Regions from separate parts of the Homo sapiens genome. Here all the other regions are linked to region 1. The links are contacts of gene promoters, found by promoter capture Hi-C in human tissues and cell types (Jung and others, 2019). All regions are on one chromosome and are shown on one strand. Each heading gives the region's core, a stretch centred on a gene start or on the middle of the fragment in contact. The rest is flanking DNA. Distances are from core to core; before and after follow the strand shown. Region 1 holds the start of FAXC (failed axon connections homolog, metaxin like GST domain containing). Region 2 overlaps PNISR (PNN interacting serine and arginine rich protein). Region 3 overlaps FAXC (failed axon connections homolog, metaxin like GST domain containing).

What was found. The method cuts DNA at HindIII sites, captures the fragments that hold promoters and counts their contacts. A contact is called where the count stands out against the background at its distance.
Region 2: a contact is called between a fragment that was not itself captured here and the fragment with the promoter of FAXC in region 1, in 3 of the 25 tissues and cell types used here (H1 embryonic stem cells, hippocampus and neural progenitor cells).
Region 3: a fragment that was not itself captured here is called in contact with the fragment with the promoter of FAXC in region 1 in 2 of the 25 tissues and cell types used here (H1 embryonic stem cells and bladder).

What each region holds. Positions count from the first base shown.
Region 1 is chr6:99,347,896-99,352,183 of GRCh38, forward strand. It overlaps FAXC (failed axon connections homolog, metaxin like GST domain containing), which reads right to left and starts at 1,779. Exons shown (of 6, transcript NM_032511.4): 1 at 1,212-1,779. The coding sequence starts at 1,477. RefSeq lists an enhancer at 53-617 and silencers at 1,809-1,868, 1,939-1,988, 2,049-2,128. The HindIII fragment of the contact is 6,681 bases long and covers 1-4,207 here.
Region 2 is chr6:99,419,391-99,423,842 of GRCh38, forward strand. The region is part of intron 1 of PNISR (PNN interacting serine and arginine rich protein); the gene reads right to left. Among named protein-coding and RNA genes, the nearest start is that of PNISR-AS1, 3.3 kb to the right of the region's middle. The HindIII fragment of the contact is 4,413 bases long and covers 1-3,533 here.
Region 3 is chr6:99,267,620-99,271,843 of GRCh38, forward strand. FAXC (failed axon connections homolog, metaxin like GST domain containing) reads right to left here. Exons shown (of 6, transcript NM_032511.4): 6 at 3,549-4,224. Among named protein-coding and RNA genes, the nearest start is that of FAXC, 80 kb to the right of the region's middle. The HindIII fragment of the contact is 5,171 bases long and covers 151-4,224 here.

The DNA.
Region 1 (4,288 bases), core at 529-3,028:
TGAGAGAATTAAATGTGCAACAAGCTTAAAATAAACTTCCTCAAATATGGCTAAATAATATGAAAACCAATACATTTCTCCAAACCTAAATGATTTCCCACCCTTTCAGAGATGGGAACTATTCAAAATATGTACGTTAGGCCAAATGCCTACATTAGGCCATCACAATAATCTCCTGGGATCCCTGCAGGCTAGTACAGGTCACCTATCACTGTCTTTGTTTATAACCTATTGTGTAGGATTCCTCCACTGGAATAAGGCAGTGTGGACACATTTCTCTCACTTTAGAAAATACTGGCAAAGAGACATTCTGAGCTATTGAAAACTGGGCTTCTGGTAATCTTCCAGTGACGGAAGGCTCAAATGCATGGAAATTTTAACCATTAATTGATGTATCAATTAGCCAAACGACTGTCTCAGTGCCCTGTGGTATTACTCTACCCAAACAAAAATCTCGTCCCGGCTGGATGTACCAACAGCAGGGGCCTCCATTTTCTGGTATTTCCAACTCAATCTTGTAAACATTCTGCGGCAGCGGATGCAACTGTTTACGGCACTGGGCGACTCCGTGTTGTGCCCAACACACCCATGTGCTAGCCTGTCCTACTGCTCACACAACAATGACATCTAAGCCTGAAGATGGTGCTTGGCGTTCAATACCAGATAAGCAGAGAACCAGGTTAAGGCTGCATCAAAGCTGCCCACCACTACACTTGGTCATGCATCTTTAACAGGGACCCGCAGGTTTCTGGAGCTTTTGCAATTTTTCAGTCTTTTGATGTTGACATTTAGGGAAGAACTAACCTTTAGGTAAAAGATAAGGTTAGCAGTTAATATTCCAGCATTATTACTTATAAACAAGGCATTTCATAAAAGTGTAACCTATTTCTGCAGGGCCCAATTCTATTGTTGCAAACACACTGCACTTAGATCCTCCTAAGGCCATTTCTTAATAGATAACGACAAGTGACCCAGAGCATTTTGGGAGACAAATGTTTTTCCCTCCCAGCACCGGTTTAATTCTCCTTTCAACTCTAAACTGCCCCTCACGGCCAGGTGACCACAAATGCCTTTAGGGAAAGGTAATTGCAGGGCGCTTGGGCATCTGGGCAGCTTGACCGAGGGGCTGGCACGGGCCCCTCTCGCGCCAGCCCTGCCCTAGCCAGGTGCCCCTCTCTGCGCCCCTGTGCGGGGCCCTCTCTCCGGCTCACCTAATGACCAGGAGTTCGTGGAGCAGATACGCAGCTGCGGCCAGCAAAGCTCCCCCGGTCAAGTAAAGGGTTTTCTTCCACCAGGGATCGGAGCCCAGCCCTGCCATGATCCCACCGTAATCCTGCAAAGGGAAAGCGATGATGTCCCCATAAAAGGAGAAGGGCTCCTCGGACCCGGCCCACCAGCCGAAGAAGGAGATGCTCTGGTTCCAGCTCAGATCCACCACGCACGGCCTGGACGAAGCAAAGCCAACCCCCCAGTGCATGCTGCGCGGCTGGCTCCGGGCGCCCCTCCCAGGGCCCGCGCCGCCCGCATGGGAAGGGGCCGGCGCGGCCCGGCGCGGGCTCAGAGGCGCGCGGAGGGCGCGGGCGGCGCGGGCGGCGGCGACTGAGGAGGCGGCGGCGACTGAGGAGGCGGCGGCAGAGGAGGAGGAGGAGGAAGGGCACTGGCCGCGGACGGCGGGCCTGGCCGGCGGGGCCCCAGAGCCCTGGGCGGCAGCAGCGGCCGCCGGCTCCCCCCGCAGCTGCCTCTCCGCCCCGCTCTTTGTGTCGGCGCCTGGAGAAGGCCGCGTGATGTCATTGCTCCCCGGGGCAGGGAAACAGAGGCGGGATAAAGTCACCTACCCCGCGCCCTGCCCCCTCCCCGCATCTCCGCGGTCCGGCCGCCTCCGCCGGGGCCGGATCTGCAGGGCTGAGGCGCGCCGGGCAGGCTCCGCGCCTCCGGGCGGCACGCCCAAAAACCGCTCGCCGCGCGCGGGCAAGGGCGGCGGAGGTGCCTGGAAATGCGGCCCCACCGCGAGGAAGCTGCAGTCGGGGCCCGGATCCCGGTCCTCCCCTACCCCGGCCGGCCCTCCGCCTGCGCTCCAGCCCCTCCCGCGGGCCCCAGAGTAGGGAACGCGCAGGACTCACCTGGGGCGGCGCGGAGCTGCGGGCAGGAGACGCCACCAGGCGGGGGCTGGGAGCGTGGGCCAGGATTAAAGTCGGGAATCAGATTGTTCTGGCCATCAGGAAAGCGCTGCGTATTTGCATAATGTATAAAAACACTCTTATTACATTACACAATTACCTCGGGCTTGACCAGGTGTTCGCAGAGACGAGATGTCTGGTTTGGCAAATAACAAAATACTCTACCTAGAGAGATTTCTCTGACAAACCCAGTTCAAGTCTTTCCTCTTTGAAGTCACTATCAGGGAACTCGCTGATACAGGGTTTCGGTTGGGGGACGGGGGTCCCTCTTTTGTTTTAGAAAATCTGTCTAACAACTGTGTGTGTGTTCAGTGTATTTTTTTCCTTTAACTTCATTTATTAAAGTTCATAAGTACAAAGAATAGAAGCTTGTAATATATGCACAGATTTTAACAAGAGCATGGATAGTTTTAAATTGTTTGGAAGAACTGAAAAAGGATTCGGGCCGTGGAGGTTCATCACTCTCAAGGTGGAAGGATGGGTAAAAGAAACCTCCAGGCTCTTGCCTATGGAGCAGAGATTGAGGCGCAAAAGGACTCCCCCTTTTTTTCCTCTCCTGACACACCCGCCCCTTAGAACAGGCAAGGAGTGTGGTCGTCTTGTTAATAAATAATAAATATGGACGTGTCGCCTCAACGAGACGGGGGGAGGGGCTAGTCAGCTGATGCCTAGGCACCAGCATGTGAGACTCCCCAAACACTCCTGGGAAAATGTGACCTCCCAGGAAGAAGTAATGTGTGTGGTTCTAAGTGAGGCTCCCATAAGTAGGTTGCAAGGAGTGAAACCCAACGGCCTCCTGGGGTGACTGAGGTGGTCACCAGCCGGTCTTTCAAGGAGAGAGGCCAGAAGGCTGCCTGGCCTTGTCGGCAAGAAGCAGAGTAGTTAAGTCTGGGACCAAAGCTGCAGTGCTCTGGAAGAGGGAACAAGGAGGGCTGGCACCAGGGATTCTCCATGCTCCTTCTGTGCCCTTCCCACAGAGCACTCAGTCTTTGCTCTCAGTGAACACTGAGCCAATATTTAAAGAATATAAGTTTGATATTTGGGATCACATTATTTGCATATCTAGGTCTAGACATGGGGATGGGCATAAATTACCTTAAGTGGAAGAATATGGAAGGCAAAAGGGAGAGTCAATCCTGACAAACCTTATGCCCAAAACAAGTTAGAACCCAGAGGAAGTGTAGTATTTTTATCCCAGAAAGCCACTGACTACAATTCACTCTCACTCATAGTGACCTGCCCCACCCACTCATGCAGGCCAGGGGCCCACTGCTGCTTCCTGGTAGTGTCAGACAACTGTTGAGCATCATCTGGTCTCTGGTTCAAATATGGTTTACATTTTTAGAGACACTGCAGTGAACATCTTTAAGAAGCAGATGTGGGCTGGGCACAGGTGGCTCACACATGTAATCCCAACACTTTGGGAGGCCAAGGTGGGTGGATCACCTAAGGTCACGAGTTCGAGATCAGCCTGGCCAACATGGCGAAACCCCGTCTCTACTGAAAATACAAAAAATTAGCCGGGAGTGGTGACGAGCACCTGTAATTCCAGCTACTCGGAAGGCTAAGGCAGGAGAATTGCTTGAACCCAGGAGGCGGAGGTCTCAGTGAGGAGAGATTGTGCCATTGCACCCCAGCCTGGGTAACAAGAGCGAGACACCGTCTCAATAAAAATAAAAATAAAAATAAAATAAAATTCCACAAGAGAAACTAAAATGTCATCTTAATCTGATGCATCTTAAATTTTAACTTTTAGATCCATGGCATAGAAGAGAAAAGATGATTATTGTTAGGGCTGTATAAGATGAAAAGAGGAAGAGTAGACTGAGGAGACAACAAATCTGAGTTGGACAAATATTTGGTATCAGAATGTCAGAACAGGCCGGGCATGGTGGGGTGGCTCATGCCTGTAATCCCAGCACTTTGGGAGGTGGGCAGATCACTTGAGGTCAAGAGTTTGAGACCAGCCTGGCCAACATGGTGAAACTGTGTCTCTACTAAAAAAAAAATACAAAAATTAGCTAGGCATGGTGTCGAGCACCTGTAACCCCAGCTACCTGGGAGTCTGAGGCAGGAGAATCACTTGAACCTGGGAAGCAGAGGTCGCAGTG
Region 2 (4,452 bases), core at 77-2,576, 71 kb after region 1:
CAGTTGATTCCTATTCAGCCATTAAAATGAATAAGGTAGACTGCTACATACTGGCATGTATTACCGTACAAACTGCATTAAGCGAAAAAAAGGGACTACAATCTGTCCCTTTTCTACAAAATTTTAATATAAGTCCAAATTTCATTTTCATGACCAGAGTTACCTGTTTTGGATAAGATTATCAAAATTTACTCTAAATCCTATAAGAAAATGAGATAGAGGACATTTGCCCAATGTCTCACAGTTGAAGAAGTTTGTGTAATTTGTACTGCCTGTACTAGTCATTATGGACTGTGTTCATTAGCTTCATTTGATTCTTTGTATCTTTAAAAATCTGTATTTTTTCTAAAAATACACATTGACAGAATAAAATAATTAAAAGAATACAGAAAAATATAAAATAAAGATTAAAAATACCTGATTCCTATTTCCAATTCCTAGAGCTTGGCAGTTTTGAGAAGATTTTGTAATTTAGTAATTTTCTATACATAACTGCATTCTTTTTTTTTTTTGAGATGGAGTCTCGCTTTGTTGCCCAGGCTGGAGTGCAGTGGTGCGATGTTGGCTCACTGCAAGCTCTGCCTCCCAGGCTCACACCATTCTCCTGCCTCAGCCTCCCGAGTAGCTGGGACTACAGGCGCCTGCTACCACGCCCGGCTAATTTTTTGTAGTTTAGTGGAGACAGGGTTTCACCCTGTTAGCCAGGATGGTCTCAATCTCCTGACCTCGTGATCCTCCCGCCTCAGTCCCCAAAGTGCTGGGATTACAGACGTGAGCTATCGCTCCCGGCCCATAACTGCATTCTTAAAAAGAAAAGGCCTCAAGTGGCATCATTTTTCATGCATTGGGCAAATGTTCTCTGTCTCATTTTCTTATATGATTTAGAGTAAATTTTGATAATCTTATCCAAAACAGGTAACTCTGGTCATGAAAACAAAATTTGCACTTACATTAAAATTTTGTAGAAAAGAGACAGATTGTAGTAAAGACTTGTTTTAAAACTAGGAAATACTTAAACTTTTATATATGTTTCAGCACATAGCACAATGCTTGATAAGGAGTTTCATTAACTATTGTTTAATTAAACAGTAAGATTACTAGTGATTTTATGGCAAGGATTTAGGAACACTACTCTTTCTTCCTTCATCTTCACCATAGTATCTTCACTACTAACAAATCCAACAAATGCAAAATCTAGAAAACAGAAGGAATACACAGGCACAACACACAGTAATCAATGGATACATATTTTAAATTTCACTATGGTTTAACAAAATAACATAACGTTGTACCATTAAAAATGACATTTACAAGTTGGTTTAAAAATGATTTGGAAAATGTTGATAATTTAAGGATGGGCATTTGCTACCCTCTTCTTTACCACTGTTTGAAAGCTTTCATTTAATAAGTTAAAGATGACATACAATAATACTTTTTATAGAGGGTCTGCATTAAATTTTCATGTTTTTGTCTTGGCTCAAACAAAAATCTTCTTTAGGGGAGAGAAAACATTTTATAATAATTTAAATTCTCCATAATGTTTTGTCCATGTTAAGTGGTTAAATATTTATAATTCACTGAAATGTTAGCAAGTAAATACATTAATGTTCAACCATGAAAATGACATTCCAATATTGCTACTGTGATTTTATAATATCAAAAATTGATTCCAATTTATTCACTCTTCCTTTAGACTTAATTTTAAAGCTTGTTAGGCTTGGGTTTTCAAGTTTGGAGAAATTTGATTAATGACGGGCAAGGCTGCAAGACTTTCCTAACAGTATTTCCCTTCATGTGGTAAAGTGAACTGCTATTTCCTTGGAAAACAAATGGGGTCTGGGAAGAACAGAAAGATGAATAACCAAGGTTTGTATCAGATCATCAAAGCCACCACACACTGCCGCAAAAAAATCAAGTGATAGCTATCACCAGTGTTATGGAATGAATTGTGTCCCCATCCAACAGATACACTGAAGTCCTAACTCCTGATACTTGTGAGTATCAAGTGATACTTGTGAGTATGTCCTTATTTGTAAATAGGGTCTTTGCAGATGTATTCAAATTACAGTGAGTTCATATTTGATTAGGAGGGACCTTATTAAAAAGGAGACATAAGACACTTACAGGGAGAATGTAACATGACCACAGTGGTACAGATTGGGAGTAGATGGCTCTATAAGCCAAGGAACATCAAGGATTGACAAGAACTACCAAAAGCTAGGAAGAGACAAGAATCCCCTACAAAGCCATTAGAGAGCATGCCCTACCAAAACCTCAATTTTACACTGTTAGCCTTCAGAACTGTGGAAGAATAAATTTCTGTTGTTTGAAATCAGCCAGTTTGTGGTAATTTGCTACAATATCCCTAGAAAACTAATACAACCAGAAATGGCCATCATCTATTTTATCCTTTTCTTAAATGTATCTATATTAGAACTTCATCGCTTTGAGGTCCTAAAACAACTTGTTTAAATGACAATCATTTATTTATTATTGAGAAATTCTCACTCTGTCGCCCAGGCTGGAATGCAGCAGTGTGATCTCGGCTTACGGCAACCTCCACCTCCCAGGTTCAAGCAATTCTCATGCCTCAGCCTCCCGAGTAGCTGGGACTACAGGTGCATGCCACCGCGCGAGGATAATGTTTGTATTTTTTAGTAGGGATGGAGTTTCACCATGTTGCCCAGGCTATCCTCAAACTTCTGGCCTCAATGATCCATCCTCCTCAGCCTCCCAAAGTGCTGGGACTACAGGCATGAGCCACCCCGTGTGGCCAAAATGACAATCATTAATATTTACAAAAGTCACTCAGAGACTGTGACAGAGATGGATGAGAATTAAAATGTGGTATTTTAAAGTCCTTGAGCATCAACTACAAAATCAAAGAGCTACAGAAACACATCTATCATTTGATGCATAGGATGAAATATTTCTCAAATCAACCACAAAGCTGAGAAGCCAGAAAATACAACAATCCTCTTCACCCCTGACATTTCAGTCTTACATGAGTTGACTGACCTCAAAGTCAAAAAAGAATTTATTTGTTTAATTCAGATTAGGTGGAAATGGCACTGGTAAAAATTAATCTTGTAATCATTCGAAATACGGAAAACAGAAATTTTGCTACTTTATGTGACATGCATTTTAGTATATACTGAAATACTTGCAGCTTGTAGCTCAAAAGACTATTTTAAAAGTGGAGGACAAGCATGGCGGCTCATGCCTGTAAACCCAGCACTTTGGCAGGCCAAGGTGGGTTCATCACTTGAGGCCAGGAATTCGAGACCAGCCTGGCCAACATGGCGAAACCTCCACTCTACTGAAAATACAGAAATTAGCTGGGCATGGTGGCATATACCTGTAGTCCCAGCTACTTAGCAGGCTGAGGCAGGAGAATCACTTGAACCCGGGAGGCAGGGGTTGCAATGAGCCAAGATTGTGCCACCACTGCACTCCGGTCTGGGAAACAGAGTGACACTCTGTCTCAAAAAAAAAAAAAAAAAAAAAAACTGGAGAATTGGAGAGTCGGTTATAAATACCCCCCCAATAATAATTTAAAAATAAATGTAGCGAGAGCGCCCAAAATGACACCCTAGTAGCAACAAGCACACCTAGGCACGAGAACTTGGTTTTAATACCATTCTTCAATAAAAGGAATCAGAGATCTTTAAAGAAATAGCTGACTCTAGGACTGCGACAGGAAATATAAAAGATGAGTCTGGGGCATGTATACTGCCAGGAAGCAATAAAGTGCTAAAAAAAAAAAAATTGATAGGAACATGTCAAAGGAGAACAGTAGACAACTCGAAGAGCTGCCAATGGCCAAAGCTGGTACAATTTGAGCAACAAAATAAAGAAGTACTGGATTATAATATAAGTTATGTAATAAACATCCACAAGCCCATAAGGATATGATAAAATAAACTAACAAATAAATGTGAGGGAAGACACAAATCTCCCACAGAGAATTCCAAATAAATTATGTAAATATTCCACCCTAACTGAGGAAGAGCACAACTGTCCATTCAGTAAGCGTGGGCTCTGCAAAGTGACTTCCTTCCAAAGAGAACAGTATAAAAAGGGGTGGGGGAAGTAACTTTACAGTGGATAAATCTAACAAACGCTACTCCAGAAGGATGATCAAGGTCAGTAATAATGTGATAAGTCACCTTGATAGTATGTATCCTTGATAGCATGTGTTGAAAAGGGCATCTTACCTCTGTGATCTTCCCCTGATATAGTCCGTAAGGCCATTTTAATCATGAGAAAATCGTCTGGCAAATTCCAATAGCAGGGCACCCTACAATATACCTGACCATACTCCTCAAAAAATGTCAAGGTCACTGTATTAGTTTGGTATGCTTGCCATAACAAAGTACCAAAGACTGGGTGGCTTAAGCAACAGAAATTTATTTCCTCACTGTTCTGGAGGCGTATAGTGTAAGCTCTATG
Region 3 (4,224 bases), core at 1,486-3,985, 79 kb before region 1:
AGAGTCCTGAAGTTTATACTAGAAATCATTCTTACAGGAGAAACTAGAAAAGCACCAGAGACAGGGAGTGGTTTTTAGAAGCAGGACTAGCCTCGGAGAAGAAAGGCGGGAGGAAGTTTGTCTGACAGGCATTAGGACCCAGGAGGCAAGCATCAGGATAGATAGGATAGATGGGTGAGTCTCGCTTGGGCGACATGACTTTGAGAGTTCTGCTCATGGCTGCAGGGTCAACCAACTTGTTGTCGGGACCCCAGAGCTGAATGGCTTTTGTCTCTGCCAACCCTTGGCTCAGCCCAGAAGTACAGGAAAAGCGGAAGCTGGTTCCAGGCAAACCAACACTCCCAATTCCAAAGAGTCGGGGGTTGTTAGAGAGCCCTTTCCCAGAAAGCCTGACAACCATGTCTTAAGTCTGGTGGCCGTGCTAGTCGCTTTTAACTGGCCAGCTTTTAACAGGTGCCTGGTATTTAGCCCCCAAATTCTAAGGAAAAATAGAACAAAATAGCAAGTGAAAGGGGTCTGATGGTACTCACTGCTTGGCGATAGGCAATAGTCCCATCTGGGTCACCAAAATGTGTCTAGAGTTGGTCCCTTCCAGTGGGTTCTTGGTCTTGCTGACTTCAAGAATGAAGCCGCAGACCCTCGCGGTGAGTGTTACAATTCTTAAAGATGGTGTGTCCAGAGTTTGTTCCTTCAGATGTTCAGATGTGTCCAGAGTTTCTTCCTTCTGGTGGGTTTGTGGTCTTGCTGAGTTCAGGAGTGAAGCCGCAGACCTTCACAGTGAGTGTTACAGCTCTTAAAAGTGGCACGTCCAGAGCTGTTCATTCCTTCCGGTGCGTTCATGGTCTCGCTGACTTCAGGAGTGAATCCGCAGACCTTCGTAGTGAATGTTACAGTTCTTAAAGGTGGCGCGTCCAGAGTTGTTCATTCCTCTTGGTGGGTTCATGGTCTCGCTGATTTCAGGAGTGAAGCCACAGACCTTCACAGTGAGTGTCACAGCTCTTAAAGGCGGTGTGGACACAAAGAGTGAGAAGCAGCAAGATTTATTGTGAAGAGCGAAAGAACAAAGCTTCCACAGTGTGGAAGGGGACCCTAGCGGGTTGCCACTGCTGGCTCAGGTGGCCAGCATTTTTTCCCTTATTTGGCCCTGCCCACGTCCTGCTGATTGGTCCATTTTACAGAGCGCTGATTGGTCCGTTTTACAGAGTGCTGATTAGTCCGTTTTTACAGAGTACTGATTGGTGCATTTACAAACCTTTAGCTAGACACAGAGCACTGATTGGTGCGTTTTTACAGAGTGCTGATTGGTGCATTTACAAACATTTAGCTAGACTCAGAGTGCTGATTGGTGCATTTACAATCCTTTAGCTAGACAGAAAGTTCCCCAAGTCCCCACCTGACCCAGAAGCCCAGCCGGCTTCACCTCTCAATGATACAGATCTGCATGGGTTCTGTAAGAAGGCAAACCCTGCATTACGAAGTGAGGATGATTTAACAAAAGTTGATGAAGTAAAATCACTCCTGGTTCAACACAAGCACCTCCCAATCTTCACAGCCTTCTACCTTCTGTGTGGTCTGATAGCAGAAGAGATAGAGTGGTGTAGACCTAGTATTGTGCAGAATGTAAAAGCTACATTCCTAAACCTAGACTCTTTGCTTTCAAACCCCAGCCCTGTTGTTCACTTGGCATGAGATCTCCAGTGAGTTATGTAACCTCACTTTGCCTCAGTTTCTAATCTGTTGAGATGATGATGATGATGGTGATGGTGACGGTGAGGATGGTGGTGGTGGTCGTGGTGGTGGTGGTGATGGTGACAATGGTGATGGTGGTGATGACGATGGAGCCACATGATGGTGATAATGGTGACAATGACAATGGTAACAATGATAGCACTTATTTTGTTGTTGTGAGAATTCAATGAGTTGATATATGTAGCTTGCAAGGAACACAGTGTTTAGCACTTGGTAAGTGATATGTAAATGTTAGCTATTATTAGTTGATTTGGTCAATAAACTCTTCATTGATATGAGAATCAGCAAAGCAGGAGGTAGAATTAGTGTTTATAGAGAAGTAGTACTCAACTTCAGGGGAGGATGGAAGGAGGTTTGAGCTAGAAGGTATCTTAAAGATCAACCTACAGGCCCCCTCATTTTTTATAAGAAAATGATAGTGACATGCTCCAGGAGTTACAATATCTTAAAGACAATTAAACATAATACAAATATAAGGTGCTAGTAATTTTTATTCTGTCTCTAGCTCTCCAGCTTATTTGCTTTAACTATCCCTTCATAGGCTGTGGCTTCACTTTACCCCAGCACAAGTTCTAGGCCTGTGATTTGTTACTGGATCCTCAAATTCAGTGTGACTAAAACGAAACTCCATTTTCCCTGCAAACCCATTCCCCTTCCTCCACATTTCCCATGTCTGACAGCAGCATCACTACATCCCCAGTCTCCTGGGGTAGGAGCCTAAGCATTACCTTCATTTTCATCATCTCTCTCTCCACTGCTGCTCCTCACATCCCAGGAGCCTCAGTGTTTCCTTGTGCATGTGGCTGCTCTCTCCCTCTCCCTATCTCCACCATCCCCTCTCCCTTGCATGCCTTTAGCTTCACTCTGAGCCCCAGGAATCAGCAGGTCTCATTGTTCCGCCATGGCCTCTTCTCTGACTATATCCAGGATGTCCTCAGATGAATCTTATTTAAATACTCTCCCATTGTGTTAGTCCCCTGCTCAAACACCCTCCTCACTCCAAAGGGATGACTTCCGTAGAATCTGGCCCTGCATACTTCCTCCTCACTTACCCCCCTTCCCAAGCTGTGCCACCAGTGAATCAGGACTATTTGACTTTTGACTGACAGTCACACAGGATTTCCACCATCTTCCTTTGAAATCCCAAGCTAAAGTTGGGAGGAGGCCTGTGACAGTGGAGAAGGAGGTAGCCAGGTCCCCATACAATCAATGCCTGGAAACAGGTAGAGTGGGGAAGGGGCCTGGGCCTGCCCCCTCCCACACTCAGCCCCTCCCTCAACCCTCTGCCCTTCCGGAGCTGCCTTTCATGTTTGTTTTCATCCAGATTTACCTGTATATAATGTTGAGCACAGGTTACCCAGTGTGTTTGCCCAGGCCCAACATACCCTGCGGTAGGTGAACGTAACCCTCCAATCCGAACAGTCCCTCCACTGGAGACGACCCCCTAAGTCTTCATAACAAGAACGCTGGCACTAAAATAGACCTCTTAGGCATACGGGGCAGCAACACGCTAATTCCGTAAGGAAGGAAGCTGGTTCTTTTTCCTCTTTTTTTTTTCCTCCAAAATCCACTTTTATCCAAAGGATAAGCTGCTCTGACCTTGACAGTTTTTAAAAGAAAAGTCTGTTGCTAATGGGAACCAGCCCAGCTGTGAAAGATCTAATGAGTGCCTGCCAGTGGCGTCATCTAGAAACAAATCAAGCAGCTTCTGAGAGAGCAGGGAGACCAGCTGTTCCGCCTCTCCTCTAAAAGGAAAGAAGAACAGAAATATGAAACATTGAGTCAAGAAACAGTACAAATGGCAGCAAAACATGTATTTTAACGACTCTGAGATCACAGCACATTGGAAAGGTAAATGACCCTCTTCCCTCTGATGAGTCCTGAAAGCTAGGACAGCAAAGCTTCCCTAACAGGACAGACGGGAAGTCCAGGACCCCACACAAGTTCTAGAAGGGTGTGGAACCAACTGACGTTGAAGTAGATGTAGATCTATTTCAAAGTATTTCTGACTAGGGTCTATGTTAATAAACAGGGCTGATAGGATTTATAGGTCAAGAGAAATGGAGTCTAAAAAGATGAAAACCAAACTACAGGTCGAGCATCCCAAATCCAAAAATCCAAAATCTGAAACGCTCCAAAATCCAAAACTTTTTGAGCACTAACATGACACTCAAAGGAAACGGACATTGGATCATTTCAGATTTCCAGTTTTGATTTTGGGATACTCAACTGGTATAATGCAAATATTTCAAAATCTGAGAAAAACCCAGATCCAAAACACTTCTGGTCCCAAGCACTTCAGATAAGAGATACTCAATCAGTATTATCACTGAAATGGGAAATTAGGGGGTTCTCTCATTTCCTACTTAATAGATATTCCCATGTTGGGAAGGGAGGGTTAGAATTTTGAATGTTACCTGATTGTAATTTGCTCTAAATGGTAAAAAGCTAATATTTGAGTAACAGTATTATTAT